Linked DNA regions of Homo sapiens: region 2 is linked to region 1. Evidence: promoter capture Hi-C in human tissues and cell types (Jung and others, 2019). All regions are on one chromosome and are shown on one strand. Each heading gives the region's core, a stretch centred on a gene start or on the middle of the fragment in contact. The rest is flanking DNA. Distances are from core to core; before and after follow the strand shown. Region 1 holds the start of EXOC1 (exocyst complex component 1). Region 2 overlaps PDCL2 (phosducin like 2).

Evidence for each region. Contacts are between HindIII fragments. The study calls those that stand out against the background at their distance.
Region 2: a contact is called between a fragment that was not itself captured here and the fragment with the promoter of EXOC1 in region 1, in 1 of the 25 tissues and cell types used here (mesenchymal stem cells).

The regions. Positions count from the first base shown.
Region 1 is chr4:55,852,255-55,855,361 of GRCh38, reverse strand. It overlaps EXOC1 (exocyst complex component 1), which reads right to left and starts at 1,714. Exons shown (of 19, transcript NM_001024924.2): 1 at 1,409-1,714. RefSeq lists a silencer at 1,823-1,922. The HindIII fragment of the contact is 5,967 bases long and covers 1-3,107 here.
Region 2 is chr4:55,574,268-55,577,435 of GRCh38, reverse strand. All of the region lies in intron 3 of PDCL2 (phosducin like 2), which reads left to right. Among named protein-coding and RNA genes, the nearest start is that of PDCL2, 16 kb to the left of the region's middle. The HindIII fragment of the contact is 9,457 bases long and covers 1-3,168 here.

The DNA of each region.
Region 1 (3,107 bases), core at 465-2,964:
CCCTTATCAACATGAAATCTGCTACCACATTCTGCGATTTCCCCCCATCTACATGTAATTTATTCCTTTCTTTTCGCACTGCAAATATACTGACCCAGGTTCATATCAACTTTACTTAACCCTACAAAATCTGGTTCTCTTTGCAAGGTCCCACAACCCTGAACAACAAGATAATTTTAAAAGACAGTTTGTATCACATCACGCTTTTACTCAACGTTTTCCTAATGTTCTCAAAAACATTCCACTCCAAACACTCTGTTCATTTTGGACATCAAATCTTCACTTTGGTACTTTCCATGTAAGGAATATCATCTCCGCCCTATCCAAACCCTAATTACACTTCATGGTTTACATGAAGTTGATTCAATGAAGATCTTAATCCAAAGTGATCTCTCCTCTAAATTTCTACAGCACTTACTGCATTTGCCGTCTAATGGGCTCATTAAATCATAAGCTTCTCTATCTCAAGAATTCTCTTAAAGAAGGGAGGGATGTTCATCATAGTTTTGTGTTTAGTGGATACTTAAATATCTATTAAGGTAATTAGAACTGAATAGTAAAAACTGGTCAAATGAATAATAGGGACCAACGTTTACCACATACTCCTTCTCTGGCTAAAAGCAACTGAGTGTACAGTAAGAGGCAAAACAAGACAGGATTGGGCATACCTCATAAAGGAGTTAGCCATAATGAAAAGCAGTATGTGACTCTTCATTCATTCAGCAAATACTCATGCTTATTAGGTGGCAGACACTATTCTAGGTTACAGTAGTCAACATGACAGATATGTTTATGAAGACCTGAAGCCGGGTGTTTCTATGGCATTTACATCCTAAGAGTCGAGTGATTAACTCTTCAGTCTTTACGGTACTTTTCTGAAAGTCAGTAAATAAATCCCTAGAGGTCCTCTAAAATTATTCTCCAGGTCTGAGAACCCATATCTGACCACGTTCCAAAGGCAGCCATCCACTGCTTACTCTGTACTGGTTGTTTCCTTCAGCTCAGTTGGACCACCACACTGTGTGACAAATAGCCTGTCAGTGTGAGTGCCCGTGTGCATTGGGCCCTGTATGCTGCTGAGATATATTAATGCATGAAGCATTGCCATCTAGAAGATATAACTGTGCAAGGAAATAGAGAAATACACTTAAGAGATTTGGCGGGGGGTGGGGGGGAGTTGGGGTTGGGGGGCCGGGATGTGAATTTGGACAAAGAGGAAGGCACAGTCACGCTCTCCTCTCCTGGACCACGCCAAAGAGCTTACGATCAGGGTCATTTTGCACAAACAAAATCTGGTTCCGATGGGCGGAACCGTAATGGGGCCCGTGAGGACTGCCCTCCCAGCTCCGCATTCTCCTAGACCCGAGGACAAGGGACTGGAGAATGCTCTGACCAAACTTCGTCTTACCGGGACAAACGGGGAAAGGAAGGTCAGAAGGAGCGGTGCCCGACCCCAGGCGTGGAGACAGCAGCCGGACTGAGGAGCCGCCTTAGACCCTGGTGCCTGTCAGCTCGTCTGTCCGCCGCCGCCGGGACTACCGGGCAGCCGCGGCCGAAGGCTTACCGCAAGGCCGGACTGAGCCTGGCTGTGCCGAGGCGGGTCTTCCAAAACGGAGACCGGATGGGGGCCACTAGGATACGCCCCTCAATAAAGCGTTGAACGGGAAGCGGCCGTTCCCCCAACACTTCCTATATCCGGGCACGTGACAAACTCCGCGCCGGAAGTTGACCGCGTAGAGAAGGAAGAAGCAGCGATGGGAGAAAAAGGGAGCGGCCAATAGACGCGGAGGGGCGGGGCGCCAACCGACGGGCGTGGCCAGGCGGAACAAGGCCTCATTGGAGGGGCGTGTCAGGGAAGGGCAGGGGCGGGGCCTTTGTGGCACAGAAACTGACTTGGGAGTTGGGGATTAAGAGTTATTTATTCAGATATTTGCAGCAATTCATTTAAGAAGAAATTCGATTAAATGTTTTCTTTTTTCATACGTAAAGCTCTATTAACTCTAGATCTTTGCTACTTAAACTTTGGAGAGCTTAAATGAGTTAAATCAGAATCCCTGCGGGTGGGACCCAGACATCAGTACTTTTAATATCTTCCCAGATGATTCTCATATGCAGCTAAGGTCAAGAACCATTGTCCTCATGACCTTGATACTCAAAGTGTGGTCCGTGGATCAGCTGCTTGGGTATCATCTGGGGGCTTTTTAGGAAATGCAGCCTCTCTGGCTCACTTCAGATCTACTGAATCAGAATCTGCATCTTAGCAAGATGATGCTTATGCATATTTAAGTTTGGGATGCATAAATGATGCCAATGTTGCTGGTTGCAGGTAGGTGTTTTATTTATTCAATATTCCTGGCACCTTTTTTTTTTAATGCTAGGCACTTTGATTCCAGGTACAGAGGTGATTCAGGCATGAATCTTAACCTAAAGGAGTTCACAGTGTGGTAGGACTAGACAAGGTGTAGGTACAAATATATATAAAATAGGACACAAAATAAGTGACCAAAGAGAGGTACAGATCAGATAAATGTGCTAGAAATTTAAATGAGCAAACAGTAGTTAGAATACTTTTCACTTTCATCAAATGACTTCCCTTTTAAGAGCAGGATCTGGTTATATCTTTACAAAGACCCTTTCCTGCTTGGCACCGGAATGCTTACTGTGGACACTCTATGACAATTGCATGTGTTTTTTGGTCCTATTATCTTTCTTTTATTTACCTGTATGTTTATAGCCCTCCTCAAAGTTGGGAAATGAATTGCATTTCAGAAGCCTAGATCTCTTTCTTGAACCTCAAGATTTGTGTATATACTGCCCATCGCCTGACATTTCCACTTGGATGTCTTATAGACACCTCAAACTTGTGTGTCCAAAAATTAAATTATCCTCTCTCCTCTTGGATTCCCTGCAAAGTGACACTTATATGCAATAGTTTATTTGGAAATTTGATCCCAGGGAGCAAAATGAGGGAAGAGGAAGAAGACAAAACAAAAAGGGAGATGCAGTATAAGAATGTGTTACTGAGTTGGTCATCACCATATTTGAATGTTTTCTTAGTCCCTTAGGACCTTCTAAGAAGCTTTATGAAATGAGTCTCAGAACTGTCC
Region 2 (3,168 bases), core at 189-2,688, 280 kb after region 1:
GAGTTAATCACCAGTGGCCAACGATTTAGTCAATCATGCCTATCTAATGAAACCTCCATAAAAACCACTAAATGATGGTGCTGTGGTCTGAATGTTTGTGTCCCCCCCAAATTCATATGTTGAAACCTAATCCCCTCCCAATGTGATGGCATTAAGAGGTGGAGCCTTAGGGAGGTAATTAGGTCATGAGGGCTACCCCTTTATGAACGGGATTAATGCTCTTATAAAAGAGGCCTGAGAAGGCCAGGCACAGTGGCCCATGCCTGTAATCCCAGCACTTTGGGAGACCAAGGCAGGCGGATCACCTGAGTCAGGAGTTCGAACCAGCCTGGCCAACATGGTGAAACCCTGTTTCTACTAAAATACAAAAATTAGTTGGGTGTAGTGGCCTGTACCTGTAATCCCACCTACTCGGGAGGCTGAGGCAGGAGAATTGCTTGAATCTGGGAGGCAGAGGTTGCAGTGAGCCGAGATTGTGCCACTGCACTCCAGCCTGGGCGACAGAGCAAGACTCCGTCTCAAAAAAAAAAAAGGACTGAGAAATCTGGAACATGCTTTTTTTAAAATTTGTTTTGCCAGTCTTTGCCTTTAGTTGGAGATTAATCATATTAATTTAAAATTCACTTACATTTAAAGTAAGTACTGTTAAGAAAGGAGTTGCTTCTGCTACTTAGGTGTTTTCTGTATTTCTTACATAATTTTTGTTTTTTAAGTCTTCCATTACTGCTTTCTTTTCACAGTTAGCTGATTTTTCTAGTGTACCATTTTTATTTCCTTCTTCTTTCATTTTCTGTGTATCTTTTAGTTTTTTCATAGTGATTATCTTAAGGATAAAAATTAACGTCTTACAGTGGCCTACTTTGAATAATACCAACTTAGAGTCAATAGCATGTAAACACATCTCCATCCTTCTCCTTATTTGTTAGTGTCACAGACTACATTGTTATATATTGTGCATCCATTAACATAGATTATTATTATTGCTTTATGTATTTACCTTTTATATCATACAGGAAAAAAAGAGAAGTTAGAAACCAACTCTAGGCCAGGCATGATGGCTTACGCCTGTAATCCCAGTGCTTTGGGAGGCAGAGGTGGGCAAATCGCCTGAGTTCAGGAGTTTGAGACCAGCCTGGCCAACATGGTGAAACCCCGTCTCTAATAAAAATACAAAAAATTTAGCTGGGCATGGTGGCACACCCCTGTAATCCCAGCTACTCAGGAGGCTAGGTGTGAGAATTGCTTGAACCTGGGAGGCAGAGGTTGCAGTAAGCTAAGATCGCGCCACGGCACTCCAGCCTAGGCAACAAAGCAAGACTGTCTCAAAAAGAAAAAAAAAAGAAACCAATTCCAATAATGGCTTTTACATTTTCCTATGTAAAAGCCAAATGGTAATACTGGCTATTATATTTCCCTATGTAGTTAACTTCACCATGTTCCTCGTTTCTTCATGTGGCTTTGGATACTATCTGGTGCTCTTTCATTTCAGCCTGAAGGACTCCTTTCACATATTTTTTAGGCAGGTCTAGGTCCCTTGGTGTTTTTTTGTTTTTATTTTTATTTTTTAAATCTAGGAATGCATTAATTTACCCTCATTCTTGAAGCATAGTTTTGCCAAATATCGAATTCTTGCTTTTGACAGTTGTTTTCTCTCAGCATTTAAAAAATATCAACTCACTGCCTTTTTGGCTTCCAAAATTTCTGCTGAGAAACTGGCTGATAGTCTTATTGAAGATCCCTTGTATGTGATGACTTGCTTCTCTCTGCTTTCAAGATTCTCATTGTCTCTTCTTGCCTTTCAGTAGTTTATGATGTATCCCCATGTGGGTGTCTTTGAGTTTATCATACTTTTATCATACTTGGAGTTTGTTGGACACTTGAGTTTATAGATTAATGTATTTCATCAAATTTGGGAAGTTTTCAGCCATTATTTCTTAAAATATCCTTTATGCTTCTTTTCTCTCTCTTTTCTGTTGAGATTCACACAACATGTGTGTTGGTCTGCTTTATATCATCCCACAGACCCTTTAGGCCCTGTTTATTTTTTTTTCATTCTTTTTTTTTTCTCAGATTTGATCATTGCAGTTGTCCTATTTTCAAGGTTGCTGATTCTTCTGCTTCCTCAAATCTGCTTTTGGAACTCTCCAATGTATTTTTTTAATTTTAGTTACTGTACTTTTTAGTTCCTCTGGTATGTTTTACTCATACCACTTCTGACATGAAATGTTGGGGCAGGGTCCCCCACAACCAATTCTCCAACTTTCTGGACACCAACTGGGTGTTCTACAATTCATTTCAATTCTGACACTAACTATTGGAGTTAGGGAAGACCCCACATTGGGAGACTACTTCAAACACACTAAGGTGGTTATAATAAATAAATTGGTGAGGATTGGAACCCTTTGAATTGCCACTGGGAATGTAAATGGTACAGCCACTTTGAAAAACAGTCTGGTGGATCCTCAAAAGGTTAAATATAAAGTTAGCATATGACCCAGCAATTCCACTTCTAGGTATATACCCAAGAAAATTCAAAACATGTATAGGAATGGCCATAGCAACATTATTCACAATAACCTCAAAATGGAAACAATCTAAATGTCATCAGTCTATACAGTGGAATACTATTCAGCCATAATTCAAATGAAATGAAGTACCAATATGTTCTACAACATGGATGAAAACATGCTAGGGGAAAGAAACCAGTACAAAAAGTCATAGAGACAGAACACAATTATTGGTTACCAGGGCCTAGGATAGGGGATAGGGAGTAACTACAAATAGATATGGGTTTATTGTGGAGTGATGAAAATGTTTTTGAATTAGGTAGTGGTGATGGTTGCACAATTCTTTGATGCTTATCCTATAGTTCTCCTGAGTAGCTCTCCTCCAGGCAATGACTATGAACCTGGGCTGTTTCATTAGGGGCTACATAATCTCAGAAACCTTTACTTCCAGTTGTGTGAATCAGAAAGTGTGAAAGGTCACGTGGGACATTTTAGGGGTGAGTCATTGAAATGTATATATCACTTTCACTCATGTGGCATGGGTTGTAATCTAGTCTCATGACCCTAATCCAACTGCAGGGCAAGCTGGCAAATGTAGTCTTTCAGGTAAATGTAGCTTCCCCAGAAGAGAAAGCTACAATGATGATCACCCTACCTGTCT